Linked DNA regions of Homo sapiens: region 2 is linked to region 1. The links are contacts of gene promoters, found by promoter capture Hi-C in human tissues and cell types (Jung and others, 2019). All regions are on one chromosome and are shown on one strand. Each heading gives the region's core, a stretch centred on a gene start or on the middle of the fragment in contact. The rest is flanking DNA. Distances are from core to core; before and after follow the strand shown.

Region 1 (5,668 bases), core at 1,920-4,419:
TTGTTCTGGAAATTTCCCTGGCCCATGAATCACCTGGGTCTGGCACCTGTTGGCTGTGTTCTCCCTCAGTTTTCCCATCTCCACGATGGGTAGCAGTTGTTGCTGTCTCATTTGAGATGACACGTGTGAAGCCTTTAGCACGCTGCCTGACTCCCAGGAGGCCCTCAGAGGTGACTGGGGCACTGCCTTCCTCCTGGTCAGTGGTGATGTTGGCTCTTATAGTTTGGGTTGGGATGCTGTTGCTCATGTCCTCTTTCACAGGGCTGCACGCAGAGCTCGGTGGAGGAGCCTCCTCCCCCAACGCCTCCGCTTCTTCCTCCCTGGACTTCTGCCCCGTCAGAGGGCAGCCTGCAGGCACCTCTCTCTGTCCTGGAAGCCTGGCCAGCAAGTCGGGGCCAAGGGCTGGTGGGGGCCTGCAGAGAGGGCCAGCCTGAGCCAGAGGAAGAGTCTTGGGGTTGGCTCAGGTATGTCCAGGCCATGAGGGCAGAGGAACAAGTCTACCACAGTCCCCACTGGAGCGGTGGCGGGGAGGCTGGGGAGGGCAGTGAACCTGGAGGCAGCCCCTCACTCCTGAATGTAGAGTCAACTGTGACTTTGATTTGCACCACAGTTTTCTTCAGAGTGCACTAAACATAGAGTCATACTCATTTTACGAGACCAGCATTACCCTGATACCAAAGCCAGATAACATTACAAGAAAGAAAATTATAGACCGATATCCTTGATGAACATAGATGCAACAATCCTCTCAAAATATTAGCAAACCAGCTGGGCGCGGTGGCTCACACCTGTAATCCTAACGCTTTGGGAGGACGAGGTGGGGGGATCACTTAAGGTCAGGAGTTCGAAACCAGCTTGGCCATTCATGGTCAAACCCCGTCTCTACTAAAAATACAAAAAATTAGCTGGGCACGGTGGTGCGTGCCTGTAATCCCAGCTACTTGGGAGGCTGAGGGAGGAGAATCGCTTGAACCGGGAAGGCGGAGGTTGCAGTGAGCCGAGATCGTGCCACCGCACTCCAGCATGGGCGACAGAGCAAGACTCCGTCTAAAAAAAAAAAAAATTAGCAAACCAAATTCAACAGCACATTAAAAAGATCATGCACCGTGATCAAGTAGATTTTATCCCTGGTGGGGTGACTTCTTTGAGGTGGCAGCCCCTCTGTTGGTGTGATCTAGAGCAGGACTGAAGGAAATTTACTCAGGGAAATTTACAAGGCTTCTGTGAAACTGACATGGCAGGGCTTCCAGCCTCCTGTTCCAAGATGGGAAAACTAAGTCTCAGCAAAGGGAGAGGTGATAAGACCAGCCCGAGATCGTACAGGACCCTGTCTTGGCCTCCTTGTCCGGAGCCTGGCCTCTCCAGAGCTGTGACTACTAGTCCCTGGGGGGAGACAGCCTTTCCACCTCTCCCAGACCGGAGCTGGGTGCTAACAGGCCCTGCCGGATGAAAATCCTACGATACTAACAGACAGCTAACAGGCCGGGACCGGCCCCCAGCCACCACCCCTTGTCCAAAGTGCAGGTTCATTGTGCTGCCCTCTTGGCTTGTAACAGTTTTGCAACAGTTGCAACTTGTCTTTGAGTGCAGGGACAGGAGAAGTGTGGGCTACCCGGCCACTGCCCTGGAGCTGTGGTGACTGCTGCGTTTTTCTCCCATGCACTTGCACGTCCAGGACTCCTGGGAGAACTTGGGCCACACTCCTTCCTTGCCCTCTTGAGCTCATTCGTCACCCTGTTGGGTGAGCACAGCCCTAGCTCAGGCCACTGGGCAAGCCACACCATCCAAAGAGGAGGTCCTCTGCCCCAGGACCCCCACACCACCCCAGGTAAGCCTCAAACTGGCGGGGCCAGCTTTCCACTGGGCAGCCAGGGGCCTAAGCCAGTGGGCCCTTTGCCTTTGAGGCAGGGACTGAGAATGGTGTCAGCACGTGGTCAGGCCCAGAGCCCAGGCCCCCTCCTCTAAGAGGTCCTCCTGGATTCCCTGCTGGAAGGAAGCCAGCCTTGTGGTGTCGTGTCTCTCCCTGGATCTGTCTGCTTCGTGGACCCTGAGCCCCTCGAGGGCAGGGGCTGGGTCTTAGATGTCACTATAGGTTTCCCAGCAGTGCTTTGTACACATTGGGCATTCAGTAAATGTAGAGGATAGACAAGCTGGCAACAAGACAGTCGGACATCCTCGGTGTGAATAAGAACACAATGATTTGATTGGTATTAATTACAGCAGTTTACTATACGATCGCTTCCGGTATTGGCAGCTGGCATCATTACAATATTAACAGACTGCCATTGAAATGCCCCGTCTTTGATCCAGCGCGAGGAGGAGATGTGACTTTCCATCAGCACCTGTTCTGATTCTTTGGGCATCCAGAGGTGTATTCTTTCTGGGTTTCCTCCACACCCCTCCTCTGGGTGTCTACTTCTGTCTGGGAAGGGGTAACTTGCCCCAGCCCAGAGTCAGGCTGCAGCATCCGGTCTGCCTCCTCCACCAGCTTGCTGTGTGGCCCCCTCCCTGGGCACTGCTGTCCCCAACAGTCAATGGAGGCTGGAATCCCTGCCCTGGGGGCTACGTGCTGTGCAGTAGCCAGTGGCTTGGGGGCATCTCCCCAAACACCAGAGGGGTCTGGGAGCTCGGGAAAGCAGGACGCAGACAGACCAGGAGACCCTGTCCCTGGGAAGCTGACCCAGGCCTTCTCACTCGCCTCTGAAGGCAGTGAGCATCCTGTCCCTGGGGGTGAGCAAACTGGGGCATGTGCTGAGATGACCTCACCAAAGGAGCCTCCCTGCAGTGGACGGGCCCCTGGCCCAAGCTGCTGCTGACCCCACCTTTCCTGCCCACCCTGCCTGTGCATAGCTCCTTCTGGGCGCGGGGAGCTCGGGCGGCTCCAGCAGGCAGGTGGTGCCTGGGTCTACTGCAGCAACCCTGAGGCGCCTGTTTCAGAGACGAGGAAATGAGGGTTGGAGCGGAAGGGTGACTGCCAGGTCGCCTACGGGTAATGGGGCATGGGGTTCACAACCCTGCTCTGCCGCCCTCAGAGGGAGCTGCCCACAGGGCTGGCCTAGAAGCCCCAACTAAGCTGGCCTAGAAGCCGCAGTGGTGGGCGGTACGCTCCGCCCAGATCCTGGGCGGAGACATGGGGCTGGCAGCGAGGGTGGGGGGCGGGGGAGGCCTGGAGTTCCGGCCAGGCCACTGCTTGGGAAGCAAGAAGGTGAAGGCACCTCTGCTGGGCCAAGCACTCTTAGGGCCGAGGGGCACTGCAGCTGACAAGAGGTACTTGGAGGTACACCCCCAGGGAGGGACGAGGCTGGGGCCTCCCCTATGTGGGCGGGGCTGGGCCTGGTCAGATCTGGCTGGGATCTCCCTCTGCCTCTGGCTGCAGGGACCATCCAGCTGCATGAGCAGGACCAGGGTTCACCATATGGGCAGCTGCCTCCCCGCCCCCTGCCGCTCCTCCCCACAAGTCTGCCTACCCTCACCAGGCGAAGGTGCCAGGCGCTCTCCTCGCTTGACCCCCACCACCCCCTGAGCCTGGGAGGAGGAGGGCGTTCCTGGGTCCTCTGCTTTGCAGTGAGGTTAAGTTGTTGCTCGAGGCCCCAGTCCTGTGACAAAACCCCCACCCATCTGTCTGATCCCAAGCCCAGGGCTGTCCTCAGCCCTCACTCCTGGGAAGCTGACTCAGGTACGAGACAGAGTTGGAGGGGGCAAGAGAGTGGGTTAATGTGGAGGCAGCTGTTTCCAGGGAGGTGGCAGGCAGGAGGGGCTCTGGGCTGTCCCCGCTGGGGCCGCTGCCAGCCCCCAGTCTGACAGTCAGAAGAGCCCTGACTGACCAGGCAGGTGGTGAAGGGGCACGTGGCAGCCTCCGGCGCCAGCAGCTGTCGCTTTTTGGGCACAGTCGGAAGGAGGAGGGAGGCTTTTGCCCACAGCTGACCAGGTGTGCTGTGCCATGCGGCACCGTGGTGGGTGGTGGGTGGTGGGGTGGGGGTGTTCAGCCTTGGAGGGCCTTCCTCGGTGCCACTCAAGCTGGCTTTCCCCTGGTGGGGCACCACTTTTGGGGGCTCCTGGAAGACTGTGGACCTTCAAGGACTGAAGGTATGTACAGACACATGCAGGAGGCATGCCTCCTTGTCCGGGGCCACCTCTGCAGGCAGGAGCCAGGCGGGCTGACACACTGAGGGCTGAGAGGCTGAGGACAAGCTCCAACACCTCCTCACTCCCCTACGCCGCTGCAATCAGACTCCCTGCTCCCTCCCTTGGGATGGGGCACTGGGGCAGGAGATGGGGGGCAGCCCTGACCAGCCTGAGAGCTGGGATCCCCCTCACATCCCCCACTGTGCCTAGGACAGGGTTCTGGGCTTCGTCAGGGCTTGGGCAGTGCCCACAGTTCAGGTGGGACAGAGTGTGGCAGTGGGTCCTGAGTCCCCCTGGGATGGTCAGAAGAGGGGGCAGGAGAGAGTCCCTGGCACTGCCACATGGAGGCCCTATGACCCTGGTCACCTCAGGGAGCCTCTCCGTGTGTCAGACTCCCCCGCTGTGAAGTAGAGACATTATCATGTGTCTATAGGTGTTCAATGAGAGTGAACGAACGTGCATAGCTATGGTCCACTCTTGAAAAAGGATGCTGACTTTCTTAGATAATTATATCAGTCATTCATACTGACGTAGGTGGCACAGCACTTCACATCTTGGATCACAGCCACATCCCTTTCACTTTTCCTGCAGATCCCAGAAAAGGGCAGTGGAGGTCCACACTGGGCAGGACACCACCCCACCCTTCCATTGAGGGCTGTTGTGAGACCTCCGTTCTTAACTTCTTAGTTTAAAGAATTTAGGCTGGGCACAGTGGCTCATGCCTGTAATCCCAGCACTTTGGGAGGCCGAGGCAGGCGGATCACCTGAGGTCAGGAGTTCGAGACCAGCCTGGCCAACATGGTGAAACCCTGTCTCTACTAAAGATACAAAAATTAGCCAGGCATGGTGGCATGCACCTATAATCCCAGCTACTCGAGAGGCTGAGGTGGGAGAATCGCTTGAACCCAGGAGGCAGAGGTTGCAGTGAGCCAAGATCATGCCACTGCACTCCAGCCTGGAAGACAGAGTGGGACTCTTTCTCAAAACAAACAAACAAACAAACAACAACAACAACAACAAAACAGAATTTAAACATGAGACACACAGCAAAAGAGCTGCAACATAGAGCAATTTATTGCAAAAGAAAAAGAACATTTTGAAAGTTAGGTGCGGATGCACCCTGGGAGAGAGAGGATTCCAGGCGGGGGGCTGCTCCTGAGTGTGAGGCAGCATTGATGATTGTTGGAGAAACCCCCTTTCAGGGAGTCTTCCACAATTATTCATAAGTGGGTGGAAAGAGAGGAAGAGGTTACTAGGCAGCATGTGATGGCTGGTCCTCTGGGTGCACATGCGGTAGCTGTACATGTTTGTTCATACGTCACATGTCTCTTTCGCATCTTTTTTTTTTTTTTTTTGAGACGGAGTTTCACTCTTGTTGCCCAGGCTGGAGTGCAATGGCACAATCTCGGCTTACTGCAGCCTCCACCTCCCGGGTTTAAGCAAGTCTCCTGTCTCAGCCTCCAGAGTAGCTGGGATTACAGGCATGCACCACCACCCCCGGCTAATGTATTTTTAGTAGAGATGGGGTTTCTCCATGTTGGTC
Region 2 (5,503 bases), core at 2,759-5,258, 560 kb after region 1:
ATAAATGGGGAGTTGTGTACAGTCCTCGGGGATATGGGGGCTACTCTATCTACCATAAACCCCACTTTAATAAGCCAACAAATCCCTTGGAGTAAAAAGGTCATTTCTGTGGTGGGGGTTTCAAATCAAGTTTAAGAGGTTCCCGTATCTGAACCAATCCAATTAGCTTTGGGCCCCTTTTCAGAAAAACACTTTTTTACTATGTTATACTGCTCCAGTAAACTTGTTAGGGCGAGATTTGCTTTCAAAGCTAAAAGGGCACATAAAATTTTTCTCAGGAGAAATAACCTTAGAGTTTCCTGATTCTCCTGGACTAGAATTGTTATGCTGTCTACAGACAGAAATCTATAAGATTGAAACTCAGGCCTGTAATACCCCTGATCTTTCAAAAATATCTAAATGTTTTTGGGCCTCTTCCCCAACTGATATGGTAAGAATTAAAAGTTTGGAACCTATAAAAGTACAAAGAGATCGTTCTAAACCTTTGCCTAAATTACCCCAATATCCTCTAAAACCTGAAGCAATTCAAGGGCTGTCACCAATTGTAGAGGATTTCATTAAACAAGGACTCATAATCCCGTGCACCAGCCCTTGTAACAGTCCAGTACTACCAGTTAAAAAACCAAATGGACAAGGCTGGAGATTTGTTTAAGATTTACGGGCATTTAATAAAATTGTAATACCAAGATTCCTGTAGTTCCAAATCCTGATACTTTATTATCTAATGTACCAATTAGTTCCAAGTGGTCCACAGTAATAGATCTCTGCTTAGCCTTCTTTAGCATTCCAGTTCATAAAGAAAGTTTGGTGGCTCACGCCTGTAATCCCAGCACTTTGGAAGGCCGAGGCAGGTGAATCACCTGAGGCCAGGAGCTCAAGACAGCCTGACCAACATGGTGAAACCCCCATCTCTACTAAAAATACAAAAAGTAGTCAGGCATGGTGGCGGGCACCTGTAAGTAATCCCAGCTACTCAGGAGGCTGAGACAGGAGAATCGCTTGAACCCAGGAGGCAGAGGTTGCAATGAGCCAAGACCATGCCATTGCATTCCAGCCTGGGCGACAGCAGCGAAACTCTGTCTCCAAAGAAAAAAAAAAGTCAATACTTGTTTGCCTTTACTTGGAAAAATAGGCAATACACCTGGGCTGTAAAGCCACTAGGGTTTACCAAAGCCACTTCATATTTTTCCCAGGCATTGCATCAGGACTTAATAACACTACAATTTCCTCAAAATTGTACTCTCATTCAGTATGTAGATGACTTATTGTTCTCCCACTAAGGAGTGCTCTGAAATTGACTCAGTTTACCTTTTACAACAACTTGCATATAAAGATCACAAGGCTTAAATGGAAAAACTTCAGTTTTCAAAAGAAAAATTCCACTATTTGGGACATGACTTGACTGCCAAAGGGATTTCCTCTCACCTGGGAGGATAAAAACTGTTCAAAGTTTTCCTTGACCTGAAACCAAAAGACAATTAAGAGGATTTCTTGGACTTACAGGATATTGCAGATCCTGGGTTCCAAATTTTTCCTTAATAGGTTCGCCATTGTATGAACTCACTAAAAATGCTGTACCAGAGCCTTTACCTTGGGAAGATAGTCATGAGCAGGCTTTTAGCCAAATGAAGTTGGCCTTACAACAGCCCCCAGCTTTAGGACTTCCAAATTACCCTAAGCCTTTCACCTTGTTTGTTCATGAGTGTGACAATCAGGCATTAGGAGTCCTTACACAAGAACGTGGTGCTAAACATAGGTCCATTGCATACGATAGCCTGCAATTAGGCCCAGACTCTAAGGCATATTCTAACTGTTTAAAAGCAGTAGCAGCAGCTGCCAAGCTGGTAGAAGCTTCATCAGATCTGGTTTTAGGAAGCGAACTTAATTTGCAAACCTCACATGCTGTGGAAAGTCTGTTAAATTCCAACCAAACCCAGCATTTTTCAGTAAGTAAACTAACATTTTATGAATTACTGCTATCTCCTAATCTTCATTTAAAATGCTGTAATCTACTTAACCCTGCTACTCTGTTACCTTTGCCTGACGATGGTGAAGAACACAACTGTGTAAATGTAGTGCCAGAAATAGTGGCCCCTCATGTTGATTTACAAGATACTCCAGTGGATAATCCTGGATTTATACTTTTTGTTGATAGGTCCTATCCTAAAATCTCAGAAGGAAAATACCAGGCAGAATATGCTGTTACCATCCAAAATGAGTGAATAGAGAAGGAAACGCTTCCTCAATTTAAGTCAGCCCGAACTGCAGAGCTTTTTGTCCTTACCCAAGTTTGTCATATAGCTGAGGACAAGTCAGTAAATATTTATACAGCTAGTAGATATGCTTTCGGAGTAGTACATGATTTTGGCGTGATATGGAAACTATGAGGGTTTCTCACCTCTAGTGGGACCTCCATCAAAAATAGACCCCAAGTAAATGAGCCCCTTTCTGCTATCCTGTTACCATTGTAGACTGTTGTTACTAAGATTGAAGCTCATACTTGTAGAACTGAACCCAAATATCAGGGAAATGCTTTAGCAAATTTTTATGCTAAATCAGCTAGTGCTGAAACTGTTAAGAAATGCAATCTGAATGAACTCCATTGGATTAAGCCGAGCCCACTTCCTTATGATGACCTGCTTAGTAAACAGTGCAGTGCACCTGATTTGGAAAAGCAAAATTGGTATCTAAAAGGATGTAAATTTAATGTGATGCACAGACTCACGGAGGGCCCAGACGGCCGCCTGGTCCTTCCTGAGTCTTTGAAGCTTCCATTGTTGAAAACGCTGCACTCCACCGCTCATCATGGAACAGACAAAATGATCCAAATTATGAAAAAATACTGGTCGGGTGACTGTTCCAAAATTGCTAAAATGGTTTATAATCAATGTTTGACTTGTCAAACTCATAATCCTGGAAAAACAATCAAAACTTCAGGTCATATATTTCCACCACCTGATGAACAATTTGAGCATTTACAGATGGACTTAATTTAGTTGTGACGCGCAATGGGGTATCAGTATGTTCTTGTAATAGTTTGCATGTTTTTGGCCGGGCGTGGTGGCTCACGTCTGTAATCCCAGCCCTTCGGGAGGCCGAGGTGGGTGGATCACAAGGTCAGGAGATCGAGACCATCTTGGCTAACATGGTGAAACCCCCTCTCTACTAAAAAATACAAAAAAATTAGCCGGGCGTGGTGGCAGGCACCTGTAGTACCAGCTACTCGGGAGACTGAGGCAGGAGAATGGTGTGAACCCGGGAGGCAGAGCTTGCAGTGAGCCGAGATCGCGCCACTGCACTCCAGCCTGGGCAACAGAGCAAGACTCCGTCTCAAAAAAACAAAAAGGGGCCCCTTCAGAGTCCTGGAACTGTACACCTGTTGGAGACTTTAAAGTAAAGCTGACCAAGGAAATCTCTCTTCAGAAGCAGACAGCATCCTAGTTTTGGACAGCTTTCCCAAGATCATGGACCAAGACTTCTCTATCATCAGGAAAGCCTTATGTGTTTTTCTGTTTTCCTCATCTTCTGCCCTAATCTTGTCCTTTTCCCTACAGGCAAACCCATGGCACCATAATCAGTGGATGGCTTTAGCTCAAGTTTATGCTCTAGCACAAAACCAGAGTAATTGTTGGGTTTGTGGGCTAATGCCAAAAAAAAATCAGGAAATGATTCCACTGGTGCCAGTGCCCCTCCGCGTTCCCAGCGAGAGCTACCTGAAACTAAGGGAAGAACAGAAAGTTATTCTTGATATGCTAAACATCACTGCTACTTGCTTCCTACACTCACTAAAAACAACACTCTAACTTTTTCAATTGATAAGTCGATCATTACCAAATATAAAAAAACAATCCAAGGCTGGGTGCAGTGGCTCATGTCTGTAATCCCAGCACTTTGGGAGGCTGAGGCAGGTGGATCAACTGAGGTCAGGAGTTTGAGACCAGCCTGGCCAACATGGTAAAACCCCATCTCTACTAAAAATACAAAAATTAGCCAGGCATGGTGGTAGGCGCCTATAATCCCAGCTACTGGGGAGGCTGAGGTAGGAGAATCACTTGAACCTGGGAGGCAGAGGTTGCAGTGAGCCAAGATCGTGCCATTACACTCCACTCCAGCCTGGGCAACAAGAGCGAAACTTCGTCTCAAAAAAAAAAATCCAAGTGATGCCAGCAAAAGATACATTGTGCTTCCAGACATCACGCACTCAAGATTTGGGAATTACTTATGTTGATACAAGTGATTGCTTGTATAATGTAACTGGATTAAATCCAGTAGGGTCTCTTTTTTACTAGATATGGTTATATACCCTTACAACATGCTATAAAGGGGCCACAGAAAAGTAAATTTCCCACTGGACGTTGTTCAGGAGGTATGCAGATTTGTGGTCGAACAAACCTGACTGATCTCTGCTCAAATGCAACTAGGTGGCCCTCTTTTCCAATCCCCAAGGGTCTATACTGGGTCTGTGAAGAGTCTGCGTATCCTGTTCTGCCTCCTCATTGGTTGGGTTCTTGTTATGTGGCCTGGCTTGCTCCTGCCTTTCAAATAGCTTCCCCTGAAAATTCTCATGATGGCCCTTATGATTGGAGGCCAAAATGATCAATAACTGAAATTAGCACTAGCCTTGAAATATTTGAGGATAAGCTCGTTTCTACTGAGGAAAGATTCCAGTGGGATTCCTGGGGGTGCACTCTTGGTGGTAGTGAGATAGCAGTTGTATGGAATTTAAAGCTAATTTGTAAATTGGGAAAAATCTTGGATTTTGTAATCAATCAGACCTCCCAGGGTTTCAGATGGGTAGAAGCTGCTCTCAGAAAGATAGATGACAGGGCTGGGCATGGTGGCTCACGCCTGTAATCCCGGCATTTGGGAGGCCAAGGCGGGCAGATCTCTTGAGGTCAGAAGTTTGAGACCAGCCTGGCCAACATGGTGAAACCCCATCTCTACTAAAAATACAAAAATTAGCCAGGCATGGTGGCTCATGCCTGTAATCCCAGCTACTTGGGAGGCTGAGGCAGTAGAATCGCTTGAACCCAGGAGGCGGTGGTTGCAGTGAGCCAAGATAATGCCATTGCACTCCAGCCTGGGCAACAGAGTGAGACTCCATCTCAAAAAAAAAAAAGATAGATGACAACACGTGAATTCAGCAAAAACACTTACTGGAACATCGTGCAACCTCAGATCTTTTTGCTCAAGCTGGAAGCCTAGGTTTGGTGTTAAACAAAACTGAATGTTGTACTACTTATCTCTTACCTGATTTTGTTATTACAGGAAGCTTAATTTAAAAGGTGCTGATACTGCTGTTTCCTTAGACACTGCCACCAAATACATTAAAGACATCTCTCAAGAGAAAGGAGCCCATGACATGTTTACAATAGGCAACTAACGGTTTGCAGGCATCCTAAGGGTGGATGGCAAGCTTGGGTTTTCCAAGGGCTTCTAATCCTTATAATTCTTCTAGTAGGTTTCCAAGTTATTATGACTTGTATTACCAATGTAACAATGA

What was found. Contacts are between HindIII fragments. The study calls those that stand out against the background at their distance.
Region 2: a fragment that was not itself captured here is called in contact with the fragment with the promoter of SARDH in region 1 in 2 of the 25 tissues and cell types used here (bladder and mesenchymal stem cells).

What each region holds. Positions count from the first base shown.
Region 1 is chr9:133,735,853-133,741,520 of GRCh38, reverse strand. It overlaps SARDH (sarcosine dehydrogenase), which reads left to right and starts at 3,169. Exons shown (of 21, transcript NM_001134707.2): 1 at 3,169-3,267. The HindIII fragment of the contact is 19,009 bases long and covers 1-5,668 here.
Region 2 is chr9:133,174,480-133,179,982 of GRCh38, reverse strand. No RefSeq gene overlaps it. Among named protein-coding and RNA genes, the nearest start is that of GBGT1, 13 kb to the right of the region's middle. The HindIII fragment of the contact is 3,395 bases long and covers 2,311-5,503 here.